Linked DNA regions of Homo sapiens: region 2 is linked to region 1. Evidence: promoter capture Hi-C in human tissues and cell types (Jung and others, 2019). All regions are on one chromosome and are shown on one strand. Each heading gives the region's core, a stretch centred on a gene start or on the middle of the fragment in contact. The rest is flanking DNA. Distances are from core to core; before and after follow the strand shown.

What was found. The method cuts DNA at HindIII sites, captures the fragments that hold promoters and counts their contacts. A contact is called where the count stands out against the background at its distance.
Region 2: a contact is called between a fragment that was not itself captured here and the fragment with the promoter of PPP1R15B in region 1, in 1 of the 25 tissues and cell types used here (heart left ventricle).

What each region holds. Positions count from the first base shown.
Region 1 is chr1:204,410,252-204,413,842 of GRCh38, forward strand. PPP1R15B (protein phosphatase 1 regulatory subunit 15B) reads right to left here and starts at 1,566. Exons shown (of 2, transcript NM_032833.5): 1 at 1-1,566. The coding sequence starts at 1,160. RefSeq lists enhancers at 543-1,377, 684-833, 1,094-1,793, 1,804-1,853 and a silencer at 1,312-1,758. The HindIII fragment of the contact is 8,124 bases long and covers 1-3,591 here.
Region 2 is chr1:203,846,427-203,849,996 of GRCh38, forward strand. It overlaps ZBED6 (zinc finger BED-type containing 6), which reads left to right. Exons shown (of 17, transcript NM_001395895.1): 12 at 758-1,261; 13 at 1,905-1,981; 14 at 3,285-3,570. ZC3H11A (zinc finger CCCH-type containing 11A) reads left to right here. Exons shown (of 18, transcript NM_001376342.1): 13 at 758-1,261; 14 at 1,905-1,981; 15 at 3,285-3,570. Among named protein-coding and RNA genes, the nearest start is that of SNRPE, 13 kb to the right of the region's middle. The HindIII fragment of the contact is 5,303 bases long and covers 1-3,570 here.

The DNA.
Region 1 (3,591 bases), core at 316-2,815:
GATGGACAGCCCTCAGAAGGGCTCTCTTCTTCCAAAGCAAGTGGAACCTCTGTAGTTAATAATTCTATTTTTTCTTCAGTGGATTCCTGGGTGTTTCCAGGAATGTCTCCAGCAGCAGGAACAAACTGTGTTGGGTTATCTCTGCAGTGTTTTGGATCCATCCGGAGAAGGCTGTGTTCCTCCTCCAGGCTGTGGTAGCCATTATCCTGGTCAGGGGTGGGTAAATCTTGCCCCTTGCTAGCCTGTTGAAGGAATTCCAGCCGTTTCATGCGAAGATGGTGAATTTCTGGTAGGCCTTCCGTAGAAAGAGGTGGACATCCCTGCCACGAGGCCGGAATGAGTTCTGCACTCAGCGGCTGGGGATGACAATGGTCCTCTCTCAGGCAGCTGCTCTCTGGGGTTAGTGTCTGGAAGCCGACTACCTCGCTATTTCCATCACTGTTCTGATAGCTGACTTCTAGCCTAGGAAAGCAGTCCAGGTAGGAAGGGTTCAGCAAATAGGATACCACACTGAAATTGTCTATGCGTTGAATGTTTAGAGGCCCAGAGGGCGAAGAGCCAAGTTCCCGGTTAGAGTACAGACGGGATTGAAGGCTACTGGGCAACAGCTCCACTCCCCACAGCTGCTGCTCTAAGAGAAAAGCCTGTGCTGCAGGGTCCAAAGCACTTCCCTTGGCCTTAAGCTCCAATTTTAGGTCTGGGGGCGAGTATTGCCAGTGGATCCCCTCCTCTAGCCAATCAAGGGGACTGGTGACCGAGGGGTCTGAGGAGTCGAGCTGCAGCGAACTCAAAGATTTCTGCGCTGTGGGGGCGGCTGGTTTCTCCCGTCCCTTCAGGGCTCTCAGGGCGCTGTAGACTCCAGCAAAATCTAGCCATCTGGTCGGAAACATTCCACCGAAAAGTTGGCTCCAAATTAGCACCTTCTGAAGCAATCCGGGGAGCGGCGCAAGGAGCTGGGAGAGCAGTTTCGTCCAGTAACTGACCCGAGTCTCGGGCTGGGCAGAGGAAAGCAGTGTGGGGTTCCCGGAGTTTTCCGGGCCAAGAGGCGTCGGGAACTTAGAAGAGCCTGCTTGCGATCGCCGAGGGAAAAAGGGTGGCCAGAACCGGAAGCCCGCCCGAGGGCCAAGCCGTTTCCGCGATCCGCCTGTCCCCGGCTCCATCTCCTTTTTCTTGACAGTCTCTCAGGTAGGGCCGCGGCGCTCAGCGGCTGGAGGTCGACGGGATTCGGAGGAAGCCTACAGAGTCTCGGCCTTGCCCAGCGGTGGCGTCGCTGCTCCAGGCCGATCTTCGAGCCAGCAGAAAAGCCACAGAGGGCAGCGAATGCGGCAGCGGGCGGCAGAACACAGGGAAGAACAGCCCGCGCAATAGGCGGCGACTGATGCGACTTCCATCCTGGCGGGGAAGGAGGTTCCCTAGTCGGCTCGACGCTTCAACACCATGGATAGGAGTCCCCCCACGGCCTCGGCGATGGTTTTCCGACTGACAGAGGGTTGAAAAGCCCCTGAGCAACGCGATACCGGAAGGACTGGGTAGGCCGGCTGGTGCGGTGGAAGCGAAGCCCAAAATGGCCGCAGGGCCCGCGCGCCGGCAGGACACCCCCCTAGACGCCGGAAGAGACGCAGGACTGTTGGGCGTCTACGTCCCTAGCGCCGCGCCGCCCAACGTCACTCGCAAAATCCCCGGGGGGCGGGCCTTTCCGCCCACTTCCGTGTGGCCGCCGATTGGTTTTGCCAGATTTCCCTGTCGGCTTCCTTACTCGAGGTAGAGCCGCACGGCAGCGTGAGGTTGCATCAGCCGGGGCGGGGGGGGGGGGGGGGGGGGGGGGGGGAATGCACGCATGCGCAGTCGTTTCTGTGTGGTCTCCTAGGAGACCGCCCCAACAGCCCTCTAGGTTAAAGGTCTTGGGGAGGGGAGGGGTTTTCAAAATAACCCGAGAATTTCCCGGAGGCGTTTTGATGGCCTAATACACACTGACGTGTGTACAGTCATCCCCTCTCATGAAATGGGGATTAGTTCCAGGACCCCGTAGACACCAGAATCCGCAGACGGTCAAGTCCCTTATGTAAAATGGTATAGTGTTTGCATATAACCTGCATACACCTTCCCAGATATTTAAACCATCCCCTAGATTAAGTATAATACCTAATACAATGCAAGTGCTATGGAACTAGTTGTTATACTGTATTTATTTGTATTATGTTTTATTATCTTTATTTTTCCCGAATATTTTCAATCCATGGAAGGTTGAATGCCCCGCGGGCCAACTGTAGGGTTATCGTAGTCTTAGATTTTTATTATTTATTTATTTGAGACAGGGTCTAGCTCTGTCGCCCAGGCTGGAGTGCAGTAGTGCGATCTCGGCTCACTGCAGCCTCAACCTCCTGGGCTCCAGTGAGCCTCCCACCTCAGCCTCCCGAGGAGCTGGGACTACAGGCTCGCACCACCACGCCCAGCTAAATTTTTTTTTTTTTTGAGACGGATTCCCACTCTGTCGCCAGGCTGGAGTGCAGTGGCGCAATCTCGGCTCACTGCAACCTCCGCCTCCCGGGTTCAAGCGATTCTCCTGCCCCAGCCTCCCTAGTAGCTGGTACTACAGGCGTGTGCCACCACGCCCAGTTAATTTTTTGTATTTTTAGTAGAGACAGGGTTTCACCATGTTGGCTAGGATGGTCTCGATCTCCTGACCTTGTGATCCGCCCGCCTCAGCCTCCCAAAGTGCTGGGATTACAGGCGTGAGCCACCGTGCTCGGCCAATTTTTGCATATTTTTATAGAGACAGGGTTTCGTCGTGTTGCCCAGGTTGGTTTCAAACTCAGCTCAAGTGATCTGCCCGCCTCGGCCTCCTAAAGTGCTGGGGTTACAGGCGTGAGCCACTGCGCCCAGCCTGACAGATATTTCAGGGTTCTCCTATTGTTCAGTACTATGTAGACCATCAACCTGAGATCTTATGTAAAAGTTGGGCAGTGCTGCGTACATACATGTCTGGTGTGGGGCAAACTAAACTCACAGAGAAGCAGCTCAGTCCCCAGAACTATTTACTCTCTTTTATGCTTCCAAGCAGGCAACATATTCAATTCATATTTATTAATACTTCCTTAGCAACCAGAACCACAGAATACAACAGCCAAAAAGGAAACATGGACCACTATCCTTTGAAAAAAAAAATGGCTGGTAATTTTAATTGCTGTATTTGATTATCTCTTGTGAGTTTGGTCTTAGTTCATTTCTTTATTTCTGCTAAAACTCTGTAATAGATACCCCTGAAGTCAAGTACCAATTACAGAGGGAGGGTGGCAGTTATGAGCACTAGGGACAGCAGAAAAATCTTTAGGGAGCTGGGAGGAGACCAGCAGCTCCTCCTGCCTTACTGGGCCTGTTCAAGGAACAACCACTTCTTTTTTTCTTTTTTGAGACGAGTCTCGCTCTGTTGCCCAGGATATAGTGCAGTGGTGTGATCTCTGCTCACTGCAACCTCCGCCTTCCTGGGTTCAAACTATTATCCTGCCTCAGCCTCCCTAGTAGCTAGGACTACAGGCACATGCCACCACGCCCGGCTAATTTTTGTATTTTTAGTAGAGACGGAGTTTCACC
Region 2 (3,570 bases), core at 786-3,285, 560 kb before region 1:
TTTACCTTCTTTTTATCCTTTAAATTTAATATCATTTCCTTGTAGACAAGTGTAGGTGTTCCTGCTGTGTCCTTTTATAGCATTATACCTACCTTATCAAAGCAGTTATCATTACCATACTCTGCTATAGCTAGTTTAATTATTGATCTGTTAGACTGTAAATTACATGTGGACAGAGATTTTATTTTGCTTACCATTGTATTTCTAGCCCAGTGTTCATTACATGTTTATAGCCATAAGTTAATGAAGAATTTATTGCTATTTTTGTTAAGATTTATAATGACAAATTTATCCAACTAGTAAATGGCTTTCAGTTTCTGAAGAATAAGCTTCTGAATAGAAATACAAATCAATTTTTGCCTCCAAAGAGTTTTCCTTGAGGACCACTGCCTGGAACTTGCAGTAATCTAAAATTGAAATAGAAACAATTAGCCGGGCTTGGTGGTGGGTACCTGTAGTCCCAGCTACTTGGGAGGCTGAGGCAGGAGAATCACTTGAACCCTGGGAGGCAGAGGTTGCAGTGAGCTGAGATTATACCACTGCACTCCAGCCTGGGTAACAGAGTGAGACTCTGTCTTAAAAAAAAAAAGAAAAAGAAAAAAAGGAAAAGAAATAAATGTTACCCTTTTGATCCTTTTAATTGCCTGCTTAAATGATAGCTCTCTGTTGGACTGTCTTGATCCAAGAATAGAGAGATCATAAGTCAGTAAGAGATGAACTTCAAGTATAATGACATGTTTTTCTCCTGTGAAAACAGATAAAGTTAATAAAGTTGGTGAGATCCATGTGAAGACATTAGAAGAAATTCTTCTTGAAAGAGCCAGTCAGAAACGTGGAGAATTGCAAACTAAACTCAAGACAGAAGGACCTTCAAAAACTGATGATTCTACTTCAGGAGCAAGAAGCTCCTCCACTATCCGTATCAAAACCTTCTCTGAGGTCCTGGCTGAAAAAAAACATCGGCAGCAGGAAGCAGAGAGACAAAAAAGCAAAAAGGATACAACTTGCATCAAGCTAAAGATTGATAGTGAAATTAAAAAAACAGTAGTTTTGCCACCCATTGTTGCCAGCAGAGGACAATCAGAGGAGCCTGCAGGTAAAACAAAGTCTATGCAGGAGGTGCACATCAAGACGCTGGAAGAAATTAAACTGGAGAAGGCACTGAGGGTGCAGCAGAGCTCTGAGAGCAGCACCAGCTCCCCGTCTCAACACGAGGCCACTCCAGGGGCAAGGCGGCTGCTGCGAATCACCAAAAGAACAGGTAACAAGAGAACTTGGTCTCTAGTACCACGTCCCCACATAATATTCCAGAGGAGTGTTCCGTGGGATCTTCCTAGGAGTTGTTTGACAACCTTTCTTTACTCAGATAACGTTGAAAACACTGAATTAAATGAAGTTTTTCAGTAGTGCTATGTAGACCTATGCTATTTTGTTTTATTTTATTTTTGAGACAGAGTCTCACTCTGTCACCCAGGCTGCAGTGCAGTGGCATGACCTTGGCTCACTGTAGCCTCCACCTCCTAGGTTCAAGTGATTCTCCTGCCTCAGCCTCCCAAGTAGCTGGGGCTACAGACATGTGCCACCACACCCCGCTAATTTTTGTATTTTTAATAGAGATGGGGTTTCAGCATGTTGGCCAGGCTGGTCTCAAACTCCTCACCTCAAGTGTGATCTGCTTGCTTCAGTCTCCCAAAGTGCTGGGGTTACAGGTGTGAGCCACCATGCCCGGCCAACCTTTGCTATTTTAATGTGTATTTTGAGACTTTAGGAGCACAGATGGGCTTTATCTGTAATTTTATTTGTCCTGTCTTACTACTTTCATTAAATAAAGTTTTGTTTAACATATCTATCATGAAGTTGCAGCTTAAATAAAATAACTAATGATGTCTTTAATGTGAATACAGGGATGAAAGAAGAGAAGAACCTTCAGGAAGGAAATGAAGTTGATTCTCAGAGCAGTATTAGAACAGAAGCTAAAGAGGTAAATTTAAGATTATTGTATGGTTTTGTTCATGGCAAACAAAGGCTAGATAATTGGTAGTTTTACCTTACAATAAATTTCTAAGTACTTCATTCATATATTAGGTAAACAGTCTTTCTTTTTACTTATAATTTCTTATGAGAATTTCCTGTAGTTCTATGTATATCAGTATTCGCTGCCCTTTTAAAGTTTTTTGTTTGCCGGGCGCGGTGGCTCACGCCTGTAATCCCAGCACTTTGGGAGGCTGAGGCGGGCGGATCACGAGGTCAGGAGATTGAGACCGTCCTGGCTAACACGGTGAAACCCCGTCTCTACTAAAAATACAAAAAATAAAGTTTTTTGTTTAATTGGCCATTACTTTTTTTTAACTGAGTTTTTTCTAATGCTATGCATCATACAAAAGTTGGAAATTTTATTTTTTTTAAAACTGAACAAACCCTAAAAATATACAGCTCAGATGTAACCATCATTATCTTTTCCATGGATTTCTTCGAGCTTTTTCAGTCTTGCTCTGTTGCCCAGGCTGGAGTGCAGTGGCATGATCTCGGTTCACTGCAACCTTTGCCTCCTGGGTTCAAGCGATTCTTGTGCCTCAGCCTCCCATGTAGCTGGGATCAAAGGCATGCACCACCAAGCCTGACTAATTTTTGTATTTTTAGTAGAGACAGAGTTTCTCCATGTTGTCCAGAGTGGTCTCGAACTTCTGGCTTCAAGTGATCTGCCTGCCTTGGCCTCCCAACGTGTTGGGATTACATGTGTGAGCCACCACACTTGGCCTTCTTCGACCTTTTTGTTTATATATGCATGCATGTGAATTTGTTTAATGTTAAACCCATGTTTAGAACATAATGGAGAACTCTACAGTGTATCATTTTACAGCCTGCTTTAACTTTACCATGTTAATAATTCTTCAAGAAGTTTGTTTTTACTGACCACATGATTCTCCATTATACAAATACAGTCTTTTTCTGGACATTCAGATTTTGTTTTACACAATTTAAAGTAATATATTTGTACATAAATCTTTGTGCAGGTATTTGATTATTTAGGAATCATTAGTATTTGACTTAGAGTCATGGTTGTCTAGCCTGTGGAATCTGGGTTTTTTATTATTCCATACATCTGTAATTCTAATCTTTCATCTTTAACAGGGTATTGTCTATTTAACATCAAATAAAGAGCTTTTCTCTCAGATTCTGGATCATGTGAGATTCTGCTTAACTTAGATGTTAGCCTGGTACTTACATCATACAGGTTATTAGAGGTACCAGATTTTAATTCTGTCATTCAAATTTATCCACAGGCTTCAGGTGAGACCACAGGAGTTGACATCACTAAAATTCAAGTCAAGAGATGTGAGACCATGAGAGAGAAGCACATGCAGAAACAGCAGGAGAGGGAAAAATCAGTCTTGACACCTCTTCGGGGAGATGTAGCCTCTTGCAATACCCAAGTGGCAGAGAAACCAGTGCTCACTGCTGTGCCAGGAATCACACGGCACCTGACCAAGCGGCTTCCCACAAAGTCATCCCAGAAGGTGGAGGTAGAAACCTCAGGGATTGGAGACTCATTATTGAATGTGAAATGTG